2 separate regions of the Homo sapiens genome follow, and region 1 is linked to region 2. The links are contacts of gene promoters, found by promoter capture Hi-C in blood cells and fetal thymus (Javierre and others, 2016). All regions are on one chromosome and are shown on one strand. Each heading gives the region's core, a stretch centred on a gene start or on the middle of the fragment in contact. The rest is flanking DNA. Distances are from core to core; before and after follow the strand shown. Region 1 holds the start of CCNL1 (cyclin L1). Region 2 holds the start of RNF13 (ring finger protein 13).

Evidence for each region. Contacts are between HindIII fragments. The CHiCAGO score rates a contact against its expected background, and 5 or more counts as called.
Region 1: a contact is called between the fragment with the promoter of CCNL1 here and the fragment with the promoter of RNF13 in region 2, in 1 of 17 cell types (neutrophils). The highest score is 5.1, in neutrophils.

The regions. Positions count from the first base shown.
Region 1 is chr3:157,155,472-157,161,826 of GRCh38, reverse strand. It overlaps CCNL1 (cyclin L1), which reads left to right and starts at 1,680. Exons shown (of 11, transcript NM_020307.4): 1 at 1,680-2,035; 2 at 2,348-2,422; 3 at 2,852-2,961. The coding sequence starts at 1,733. RefSeq lists enhancers at 819-878, 899-948, 1,036-1,765, 2,399-2,468 and a silencer at 2,049-2,258. The HindIII fragment of the contact is 11,903 bases long and covers 1-4,942 here.
Region 2 is chr3:149,810,681-149,816,886 of GRCh38, reverse strand. RNF13 (ring finger protein 13) reads right to left here and starts at 3,672. Exons shown (of 10, transcript NM_183381.3): 1 at 3,534-3,672. RefSeq lists enhancers at 3,829-3,938, 3,804-4,315 and a silencer at 4,149-4,298. The HindIII fragment of the contact is 6,716 bases long and covers 2,326-6,206 here.

The DNA of each region.
Region 1 (6,355 bases), core at 431-2,930, 7.3 Mb before region 2:
CGGGCGGATCACCTGAGGTCAGGAGTTCAAGACCAGCCTAGCCAACATGGCAAAACCCCGTCTCTACAAAAATACAAAAATTAGCTGGACGTGGTGGTGTGTGCCTGTAATCCCAGCTACTGGGGAGGCTGAGGTGGGAGAATCGCTTGAACCCCGGAGGCGGAGGCTGCAGTGAGCCGAGATCGCGCCACTGCACTTCAGCTTGGGCGACAGAGTGAGACTCTATCTAAAAAAAAAGAAAAAAAAAATCAACTGATAACAGGCGATTAACAGGAGAAAAGGGATACATAACACCGGGGTAAAAGCAGGAGGATGATTACCCAGTAGCTTAATGGAGTACAGAAGATTTTATATCTTTTTTTCATAGGGGAAAGGGTAGATGAGAAATGTAGACATTTATTTTGAGGAGCAGCAAATGATTATTAGGAACAATGAATGGACAGAAATTAGTAAATAATTTTCTTTTGAGTAATCTTGTGAAAAAGTCCCTCCAGGAATGGCTGCATTTCTGAGTCTTTTTGAAATAGGATACGAGATTTCAGCGAGGGGAGGAATGCGATTGATTCTTCTACAAAGAGGCTTCTCTAGTCAGGAAAGGAAATTTCAGAGAGTACCTCCCTGCACTTGGGAAAAGTGGGAGCAACAAGTCAAGGTTGGGGGACCTGCATTATGAGGCAGCTTCTAAAGCCTCTGTCTTTGGGGTATCGCTTTCTGAGCGTCAAGAGTAAAACGTGATGCATTCCTTTCCTTCCAACCTAGATTCTAGTAGTTTAGATCAGTATCATTGTTTTTACTTCAAGGTTCAGGAAACGCTGGAAATTGCTAGCTAATATCACAGGAAAAAAAACAAAAAACACGAGGTTGACCTCACCCTACCCGCGGTAGGTAACCATGTATGAATAGAGACTCCCAGGCATAATCAAATTACCTCTGTCAAGTCCTCGCCCTAAGACTATTTTTGGAAACTAGGGATTTTCCAGATTACTGAAAGCCGTGGCGGTGTCAAAGGCCGGGCAGGAGTTTCGCAAGCGGAGCTATGAAAGCAGCCACTCTCGCGGTCATTCCTATGCCTCCGCCCTACTTCCCCATACTGGCAAAAACACGCTCCCCGGGGAGCTTTCATTTGGGAACCGATAGGGTCCACAGCCCTGTGTTCTTCAAATACTGTAAAGCAGCCCTCTCCAGATTCCTTGAGGGTCACTTTATATTACACATTCGTCCACACAGGACAACAAAGTCACCACTTCCACCCGCCAAAGCGCGCTCAGGTCGGCCGCCACTTCCCTTGGTACACGCGGAACGCAAGCCGCGCCGAGGCTAAAGGAAGAGGCCGGAATGCAGGGCGAAGGGGCGCAGAGATGCTAGCCAATGCTGCCACCTCTATTTTGGGTATAAGGGATCTTGTAAAGCTCCGTTATTCGTGTGGCTATCACAAACAAGGTGGTTTCGACCGGCCTTGGCTAGAGAAGGCCTCCTCAGCCTCTGAGGATCCCAAGGTCTGTCGCAGCACCCAACACTCCCCTCGCAGGCCCAGATGCCGAGGGCGGAGGCGCGGCCTGGAGGGACTAGTTGGCGCGCGGCTGCCCGGCGTGGTGACGTCAGGGCGGAAGCGCACGCGGCGTGAAGCGGCCCAGAACCCGGCGGTCACGGGAATATCCGTCGCGCCGAGAACGCTGGTTAGTCTTGTTTCGGGTTCCGGCTGCGTTGGGCTTGCGTGCGGCTCGCTAAGACTATGGCGTCCGGGCCTCATTCGACAGCTACTGCTGCCGCAGCCGCCTCATCGGCCGCCCCAAGCGCGGGCGGCTCCAGCTCCGGGACGACGACCACGACGACGACCACGACGGGAGGGATCCTGATCGGCGATCGCCTGTACTCGGAAGTTTCACTTACCATCGACCACTCTCTGATTCCGGAGGAGAGGCTCTCGCCCACCCCATCCATGCAGGATGGGCTCGACCTGCCCAGTGAGACGGACTTACGCATCCTGGGCTGCGAGCTCATCCAGGCCGCCGGCATTCTCCTCCGGCTGCCGCAGGTCAGTGCTCCGGCCCCGGGCCGGCCGGGCGCTCCTCTCCTCTCCTCCGTCCCCTACGCCGCATCTCAGTATCACCGTGCCCCGGGAGGGTGGGGACGGTTCCTTCAGGCTTTCCCGTTCGGGGCCCAGCCGCGGCCGGGGCGTGCCGGGGCGGGGGGCTGCGGAGGCGGAGGGAGGACTTGGCAGCGGGCTGTTCGCAGCGGCGGCGGCGGCGGGAGGGGAAAGGGAAGCGATCGGCGGCACAAAATGGCGGCGGCGCCTGGAGCGGGCCCGCCTGACCCCTGCGCTTCCGTTCTCCTCTCTTGTCTGCAGGTGGCGATGGCAACGGGGCAGGTGTTGTTTCATCGTTTTTTCTACTCCAAATCTTTCGTCAAACACAGTTTCGAGGTAAGCACAGCGGAGGCGGGTAAAAGGGATTTCTTCATCCGGAAATGGGCAGAGTAGGGGTAGTGTCAGCAGCCAGCTTTTCCAGAAAGGGAGTGGTTTAGTTTAGGCCTTTGTACCTACTTCTCACTCGCCAGGAAGTGGAAACCTTTAGAATGTGGTTCAAAATCGATCACGAGCCTAAGTGCCCTCTTAACGAAAAGTACAGTTTTCAACCAAATGCAGAACTCCTGTAAGATTGAGTTTGACTCTGGAACCAAAATTAAGATGAGTTAAACAACAAAAAGTATAGTACTAGCATAGCTGGTAGACTTACGGCATAGAGATGTCTTCTCTAATTTTACTAAAGGTTGTCCCAATTGTGTTCTAAATTTTATTCTTCAAAGTGAGTTTAATCTAACAATGGCTTTTGTGGCTCATGGGTTCTTTCAGATTGTTGCTATGGCTTGTATTAATCTTGCATCAAAAATCGAAGAAGCACCTAGAAGAATAAGAGATGTGATTAATGTATTCCACCACCTCCGCCAGTTAAGAGGAAAAAGGTAAGATTGGCATTATTGAACATAGTATCTCTTGCTACTGCTGTACCGTGCACCAGTCATCAAATCAAAACATCTTTCCTTTCAAGTGAATACGGATGCAAAAGAAAACGGACTTTAATTTAGGTGTTAAAGTTCATATAGGAACACTGATACTTAAAATAATTTGAAAAAAGAAACATAATTAACCGGTTATCTAAAGTTTGTAGAGGCAGTTGCATTTATGGACAATCCTAACAGTGCTGTGAAGCCAGGCCTGTGGCTTAAGATTAAACAAGAAAGGGAGTACATTTGGCTCAAGTGTGAGTGTATTCTGTAAGTTATTTTTCCTCTCCCCTCTCTGGAAGACTGAAGGCTGGAAGTTTAAACACTGTAGTTTAAGTTAATATTGTGGCAAAGTTCTGTGTAGATTATGTTTTTCTACTCGAAGTCCCAGTTAATTCTTTATCAATTGAGGTTGGCTTTTGTTAGAGTACTTCTCAACATTGAACTACGATAAATCGAATAATACCGGATCTGAAAGGACTGCAGGATGATAAAGTTTGAAGTTTGAAGTCAAAGGGATTAAACAGGTATTTTGTTTTGGTTAGATACAGTCTCAGTGAGTGGGTTAGAAAATTAACAAGTAAGATTGATTGGGTTGCATTTAGATAGGGCCATTTATTTGATGTTGTAAGAAAATACAGAGACTGAAATAGTATCTCCTAGGTGTTGTGGTAACATAATTTTATGTGGACCTATGTGTTCCTGTGAGGCAGTACCAAAAAGTTTGTTGCAGGACTTCCTGCATCTACAGGTGACTTCCAGTACATGCTGCAGAATGATATATTTGGTGTAGAATAGTTTTTGCATTCACTCTTTAAGGAATTGTAGTGATGTTAGACAAATTGTACTGAGTTTGAAAGGAAGTTATTAAAAGGATTATAAGTTGTTCTGGGGGTTGGGTATGTTGGTTAGTGCTGTTAGTATTCTATATGAGTAGTCCTTATTGGCTGAATCTGTAAGTTGGCAGTAATGGAACTATTCAGACAAGCAAATATTAAAGCAACTTTAAGATGACTAGTCTATTCTGTGAGTCTACAGACAGTTCTTTTTTAAAAAAAGAGTATCCTAGTCAAAAAGTCTGCAACAGTTTTCCTACATACTTTTTCTCCCCCATCTTTTCTCATTCACCTTAACTGTGTCCAGGGATAGAGTACTTTTTAAATTCTAAAATATCTTTTAGTTTGTTGATGAGTCCCTGGGAATTGGGAAGATTTCAAATTGGTCTTTGGTATGGTCTGAGGTTAAATCTGTATTTAGATACCTGGCTGATTCTTCAGGATGTTTAAAGTAATGACACTAATACAAGGCTCTATCTTTAGTCAAAGGTTTCTCTTTGCTTAAAGGAAATGGTTTTCTAGTATTCTTTGAACCATTGAGCCAACTATTATGTAATCACATGATTATCTTCTGTGGAATTTTCCTGTGAGACTAGTTTACTTCGTTGATGTTAGAATAGGTCTTAACTGTAAAAACCATGGAATTTAAAATAATATAATCTCACCTGATTGTTGTGTCTGATGTAACTTTGTTTTTTGGGTCATTATTACAGAGAAACTGATTTTGTTTCAATCTTAGAAGTCTGATTATAGCAAAATTTAAAAGGAGTTGTTAATTGCATGGAAGCCTTTTTTTAAAGCAGGATGTAAAAGTGTTTCTATGCATATTACAAGTTTACTCAAGCACGTAACTTGTATATGTTATTAACTTCAACTCTTTTTTCCCTTGCAACCGACTATACAGCGACCAGCTACATTTACCAAAGCCTGGGTGATGTGGAGTGGTACATAGAGATGAAGCTGTCGTCATGGCAACAGTGAGTGAAGTATCGAAAATCCCCAAGGAGAAGCCAGTGCTCTGAGAATAGGTCACTGGAATCGGGGACTAACAGGTTGGCCACTGGTGAACCATTTAGAAAAACTCCTGTTTCTTGTTATAAGCTTTTGTCTTTGCTGTCCAAGTTATTAGAACTATAGCTTTGTATTTATTTTTGCATAGGTTAATGTCATTAGAAAGTACTATCAGTATTATACATTGGTTAGGTAAAGCATATCACTTGTCTTAATGATGCTATTTGTTTTAATCTAGTTTATTCATAACTTTAAATTGTAGTGTGACTTTGACAATTACAGTGGAGATACATTATTCATGTTGCTTGTAGGTCATTGGTCTCTTCAGCCTGGCTACACATTGAGAATTAGCAGAGGAGCTTTTTAAAAAGTACCAGTGCTTAGTCCCCAACCTGGATTGTTTGGCCTATTCCTCCTTCAGTTTTTTGTGGTTCGATAATTATCTTTTAAGTTGACAATAAACAGCTAAATTTAGAGGGGGGATTGCTTTTTCATTGTTCTAGTTTCCAAATATTTACTTTTGAGATGCAGCGTATTAAAATTTTCAAAGACTGGTTTAACCATTCTCATTAGTAAATACAATGTATTTTCAGTGTATCCATAGATAATAAAAGTTGGATAGGTAAGAATTGGAAGGGTGTTAAGTGATGTCATTTAGTCTACCACCTTTCTACAGTATAATTCTGTGGCTCTACAAGGTGGCCTTCAGTTTGTTTAAATACCTATAAAGGATGTTTCTACTTTTAAGTAGGCATTACAAATTTTTGTATATTGCTTGGCAGTATGCCTCTTTGTAAACTACCAATCTGTTATAGTCTCTTGAAGACTTGGTTCCAATATTTCTCAGTCTTTGTAACACATAAATGAAACTAACCATGTTTGGACTTTGTAATTTTTGTTGTTGTTGAGTTATATGTCAATTACATAATCATGCTAAAGGAAAATAGCTCCTCTAACAAACCATAATAATAAACTTCTAATGACCAAAGACCAGGATTTTCTAAAGCTGAAAATAATTCTCGTATAAATCAGAAAAATTGGACAATAGAAACTTAAAGCAGAGATTGAGTTAGTTTGTGTGTTGATAATGAAAATTATTTTTGAGTTTTCTCTGAATAGATGAAGACTTCTTTTTTAAAGAGATTTTCAAATGCCACCTCCTCAAACTTTATTGGCAAAGAAAGTTTACCTGATTGGGGAGGAAGAAATTCTAGCAGGCCTTAATTTAATGTGCTTGTTGCAACAGAAGGTACTAATGTATACTTTGAGACTTTGTTTACTGCTGATTGATGGAGATATATTTTTTAAATTTATGATACAAAGTAATCTCTACCAGGTAGTTGTAAATTACGTGTGCACCGTTGATTTGTGAGGTAGAACCAATTCTGAACAAAATAAAGGTATCTGGTTTTAGGTTATATACCCACAAAGTTAACTTTGAAAATTGCAGGTAATAAATAGCAGGATTAAGCAAGAAGTTAAGTATATATTGAATTATAGTAAAT
Region 2 (6,206 bases), core at 2,423-4,922:
TATACCTTCACTACGATCATCACTTCTTGCCTCAACTACTATAATTAAATTGCATGGTATTCCTACTTCTAGGCTTCCACTCTTCCATTGGACCTGTTCACAAATTATTATCCATAAAGAGAGTTTCTTCTTAACTAAAAATCATATATAAAATCTTTAGTCTGACATTTAAGAATCTCCATAATCTGTATCCATCTATCTTTACCAGTCTGGTCCTTAAACATATATCCTTACCAAATGTATTCTGCTTTTCCTATCTCTATACCTTTGCTTGGGCAGTGTCCTTATGTGGAACTTTTTTTTTTCCACCCTCCTTCAACTGCTAACAATCTTTCAAATGACCTCATCCTCAATGAAAAAAAAAAAAAGGCTAAGGCATATAATTTACTAAACATATACGCCATCTGATTGCTTCACAAATTATCTGAATCCCCACAAAAACAAGTAAGGAAGGAGTTAAGGAAATTGAGGAGGAGCTTCCCCAAGGTCACCAGCAAGTACGAATCCACAATAGCCCCACAGCATTCCATATTTTTTAATGAAATAAGACACAAAAGAGACAGACGTTCTGTAGTCAGAATACCTGTGATCAAATTCCAGCTACTCCACCAGCTACTTGTGTGAACTCAGAAGTTATGTATCTGTGATGCCTTAATTCCCCCACTTCCCACTTAGAAAATGGGGATAAGACAGGCATGATGTATCACACCTGTAATCCCAGCATTTTGGAAGGCTGAAGCAGGTGGATGACTTGAACCCTAAAGTTTCATACCAGACTGAGCAACATAATGAGACCTTGTCTCTACAAAAAAAAAAAAAAAATTTAATTAGCCAGGCATGGGGGTTTATGACTGTAGTCCCAGCTACTTGTCGGGCTAAGATAGGAGGATCCCTTGAGCACGGGAGGTCGAGGGTGCAGTGAGCCATAATTGCTCCAGCCTGGGCAACAGAGCAAGACCCTGTCCCAAAAAAAAATAAAAAGGAAACAACTTACTATCTACCACATCAATGACTGTAAGAACCACCTGAGATATTATAAAGCACTTAGAATTGTATTTGGCTCATATTAACCAATCAATATTAGCTACATTACTGTTTTGTTGTTGTTGATATACTATGCTATATAAACTTTGACAATACCAATCATATGCTGTGTTGTTCCCAAATCAACTTTTGTGTAATGTAAAAGATTCATAAAAGTTTAATATTTTACTTTTATATATGCTCAATAAATATCTATAGAATACATACATTTTTGAACAATGACTCACCAGTATGCTTTATTAAAAGGAATTCGCTTCTAATTTTGTTTCCTCTTTTGGGAAAAGTAACAATGCTTACCAACTTTCTTCCCCTTTTTATGTCATGTGAAACTATCATATGCAATGCCATATGGTAAACATGACAAATGGTGCAAAACACTGTTTTGACTGAAACTCATTTGCCTCCTGCTAAACATCAATTCCCAGATTTAAAAATATTGTTATTTAAATGCCAACCATTTCTAGGTCACACCTACATGAAGTAAGCAAAACATACCATGATAGTTGACCAAACTATTTCATTTCATACATCTCTTATGGCAAGAACTATAAGGCATAAAATGCCTTCCTAGCCAACTTAACTCAAAGACATAAATCTATCCCTTTAGTCATACCCTCAGGCCTACCCTCACTTAGCTAAAGTTAGTGCCTGTAAAAGTTCTGATAAATCTACGTTATTCTGGAATGCAGAAAAATATCAAGGGAAGAAAGCTGAATGCTAGCAACAATTTATGCCCCTCCAAAATTATTGAGAAAATTAGCTTTATACAAGCATAGATGAGAACTTATCCCAAACCCTTCAGTATTATACCTCTCAAACCAAGATTCTGTCTATGATTTGCATTACACATAGAGACAAGATGTCAAGCTGCCTAGCTTCAAACAAAGGCAGAGGTTAAAAAAAAAAAAACTAATAAAACAGTTCTCATTCCCTACATAGAGAAAAATAACTGTGCCTCTCTCCAACAGTTTCCAACAAAACAAAAAAAAATTATGTAATAGACAAATTTTGTTTCATTTAATCCTCATAACAACTCATTTCTTATTTACGGAAAATGTCACAGAATTAGTAAATGGCAGAGCTGAACCCAGCTTGACTCCCAAATTTGGAATTTAGTATTTTGAAACATTTGTTTTTGCCATAATCCATAATACACTTTACATTTCCATCTTCCTCTTGACACACACATACTGTTAAAAACTGAAACAAAAGCTTCTTGCCATAATATTTACTTTTATTCCATACAATGTCCTCTGGTATTTTTTCTTTCTTTATAAAGCTTATGTCAATGTACTAAATTGATTCTAAAATCTATTAATGAATCCTTATGGGCCCTGCACTACAGCACTGCACTACACTTCCTGCACTACAGCACTGCACTACACTTCTTACCTCCTGTTTAAAGTTCTTTTTAATTGCTATCACTGTCCAGTTTTGTTACTTCGAGATGGAGCTAATGTCCACCCATTAAAAAACTGTGCTTAAATAGCATAAACTCTTGAAAGCCCTACCTTAAATCTTGAATTGATCTGTTTCTCCAGAAGAACTCTTTGGAGGCACAGCCACCTTACTTATTTATATTGTATCAAAAACTGCAGATGTTCTCCTTGGAGAACAAACACATCATTGTTGAAAGGAATGCATCAGTTTTCACTGTTTCTGCTGCATCACTGACGAACAGTAATAGCCGGGCAGGTTTGGGGCAACAAGAGAGGACCCGAGCAGCTGCCCACGGTGCTGAAACTGATGATGAAACGACAGTTTTGGAAATTTACTATTTACTATTGTCAGATTAGGACAAAATAGAGGAATTTACCAGACACTGGCAGAGAAAACTGAGTGGCCGCCACCAAAGTTGCATGAGTGCTTCCGGGATACTGCTGTTTGGCTTCGATGTCTGCCCACTCTCTCTTTCTCTCTGGGACAAAGTTATTTAATAAGTGCAAGTCAAGTCAAGTCAAGCATACAGGCAGAGCTGCTGACTGACCGTAGTATCTGGCCCTAGCAGGGGTTAAGTCCCAAACCTGCAATCTGAGCTTCCAGGGAAAGAAAAAGGGGGTGGGGGTAAAAGAGAGGAAGTGACTGCCCTCCTTCTATTCAGAGACAAAACAGCCCCCTCAACTAAAGTCAAGCGATGTGCCCGAGGACGTTGCGGCAGGTACTTGACCAAGAAAAGCCTTCCAAACATGTTTTCCAGGCAGGCTCTTGCAGCCTCAAGAAGGGAATGAGAGAAGCAAAACCGGTAACTCAACTTTGGACACACACAAACTCGCGGAATGAGAGTGCAGGGGAGACTCGGTCCCCCGAGGGCAAGGCTATTTTATTCCTTTTGCAAAAAGCCTAATTGACTTCTCACCCAGCTCTAGAGGAGCAGCAAAGACCTCAGCAGCAGGGCCGACTCCGAGCTCGAGGGCCAACAAGCGGGGTATGTTCTCTGGGCCGCTCGATAACGAGCTGCCCGGCTGCCGCGAAGCCGGACAGGGTCTTACCTTGAAGTCCGGCCCCCGCAACACAAACAGTCTTGCCAGCCGCGTCGCTGCGGGAGAAGTCCCTACCCTGATTTCATGACTGAATATCCGCACCGACCCCCACAGCCCGGAGTACTAGCAGGGACGACAACACCTAGGCGAAGCGGAAGTCCCGCCCCACGCGCCTCATTGGTCCGCACCCAAAGGCACAGAAAACCCACTGGGCAACATGGTTGCCTGTTAAGGCTCTTTCCCACTCTCACGCGGAGTCTCGCTACTTGCTCTAGCCCGGCTCGGAGAAATGCCCAGTTTGCGAGTCTCGTTCTTGGCCGCGTGATCCGTCTTCCCTGGAAGGGAAGAGCAGGGTGGGGCAGGCGTCTGCGGAACTGGAGCGCGGCTGAAGAAGCTGCTCTTGGCAGAGGAAGGGGCAGGCTGGCAAAGTGGATTGGCTGTGGGCGCCTGCCGCTAACCATGTGCCCCTAGAAACGGAGACCGTAGGGTCTGGAGGGCGCGGGACCGAGCGGGCAGGGCCGGTCGGTCTGATCTGCTCCGGCTGTTGGGACAGAGTAGCCCAAGATTCGGCTGCCGGGCTGCCCCCGGGCGGGCCTGGCCCTGGCGCTGACGCGTCTCTTCCCTGCACACTACACTCACCCGACCTACTAAAGAGGCGAGGGCGAGGCCTCATCCGCCCGCCTTCCGTACCGTGCCCAGTCTGAGATCAGAGTGGGTGGGGACCGTGGCCACACCTTAAAGTAGGGCTCAAATTGTTAGAGATGCGAGCGGCCCGAGGTCTGAACGCCAGTCCCCTGAGGCCTGGCTCGGATCCACGCTGGCATCAGCACTCTGGGCCTGACACGCGCCATCCCCGGGGCTTAGCAAAAGTCAAACCATGTGATTCAGGCCCTAGGTCAGCCTTTTAAAACCCTTGCCTCCTTTTGATGAACCAAAAATCTCCTCCCCTGCCGCCCTTCTGATAAGCCTTCCTTTCTGGTTGTCTCAATCTTAAACCAGTCGAAACTTAAATTACCGGATTGTACCATCCACATTGATTAATCATTGCCAACTCGCCACCTTACAAAAGCAGTGTGACTTAGGCAAATATTACAGAGTCCTGAAAGAAATGTCAGGAGACATAGAATCAGGCACTACTTCTGCTTCAAATAATAAGGCACCCTTAATAAGGCCTTTACAGGCTTCAACTCCTTCAACATCATCTTTTAAAAATGGTGGCGAGGAGGCTATCACACAGAGTATTAGTAGAATACCATTGGATGTAACTTGTCACTTTGATTGCTTGGAGAGCCCTGAGTAGGTGGGACACAGCAATGGGGAAAAGACTCTTTCCTTATTGTGTATCCTTTTGTGCCTTTTGAATTTTGAACCTTGCAAATATTACCTACTCAAATAAAATTCAAATACAAGAAATTTAAGATCAAATTTTAAAAAATTAAATAAAAGCTATCAAAGGTACTTTCCTCTTCTGTGTATCCTATGAGTATTCTATGTAGTCTTAACTTTTCATTGGTTGCAAAGACATTCAATACTTAAATCACAATTCTGCCTTTAAGAAAGTCATAAATAAAAGTCAGCATTGGGAATATTACTAAGAAGACTAATTAGTATAAACACATTTATAATATCTCTATAAGCATTTTTTTCATTAAATTATCCCAAATTGGTATATTAAATCAGATTTCTTGCATAACATCAAAATAAATTTTTTTAGGCCGGGTGCGGTGGCTCATGCCTGTAATCCCAGCACTTTGGGAGGCCAAGTCAGGCGGATCACTTGAGGTCAGGAGTTCAAGACCACACTGGCCAACATGGTGAAACCTCGTCTCTACTAAAAATACAAAATTAGCCGGGCATTGTGGTGCACACCTGTAATCCCAGCTACTTGGGAAGCTGAGGCAGGAGAATCGCTTGAACATGGGAGGCAGAGGTTACAGTGAGCTGAGATCCCACCACTGCACTCGGGCATAGGCAACAGAGCAAGATTCCATCTCCAAAAAAAAAAAAAAAAATTAAGTCCACAGAGAGGAGCTTTGGGTTTTGTTGTTTTATTTTTATTTATTTTAGAGACAAGGTCTCACTCTGTTGCCCAGGCTGGAGTGCAGTGGTGAGATCATGTCTCACTGCAGTCCAGAACTCCTGGGCTCAAGTAATCCTCCCACCTCAACCTCTGGAGTAGCTAGGATTACAGGCATGTGCCACCAGGCCTGGCTAATTTTTTTATTTTTTTTAGCCTTACAGTCTGGCTATGTTGCCCAGGCAGGTCTCAAACTCCTGGCCTCAAAGGATCTTCTTGCCTCGGTCTCCCAAAGTGCTAGGATTACAGGCATGAGTCACCACGCTCAGACAAAGAGCTTTGCTTATTCCTTAAAGGCACCTTGAGTACAGAATATTTTACTTCTGGTTTCAACCTGCTCTTCAGATAACAATAGGTATAGTTCTCTCAACTATGAACAAGGTAATGTGTCATTTGTACTGCATTTAGGCTACACTCTGCAAAAACATTTACTCTCCCAACCTGTGCTGAAAAAGGTAAATTGGAAAAAAATATATTGGAAAAATGTATTAATCTTTCTAAAGCAGATTAGACAGTAAGATTGACAGATATCATAATTACAATTTTCAAGAACATGAAGGGTTAATAAGGCACGTGATACTAATATACCACTAATTATCTTTTTA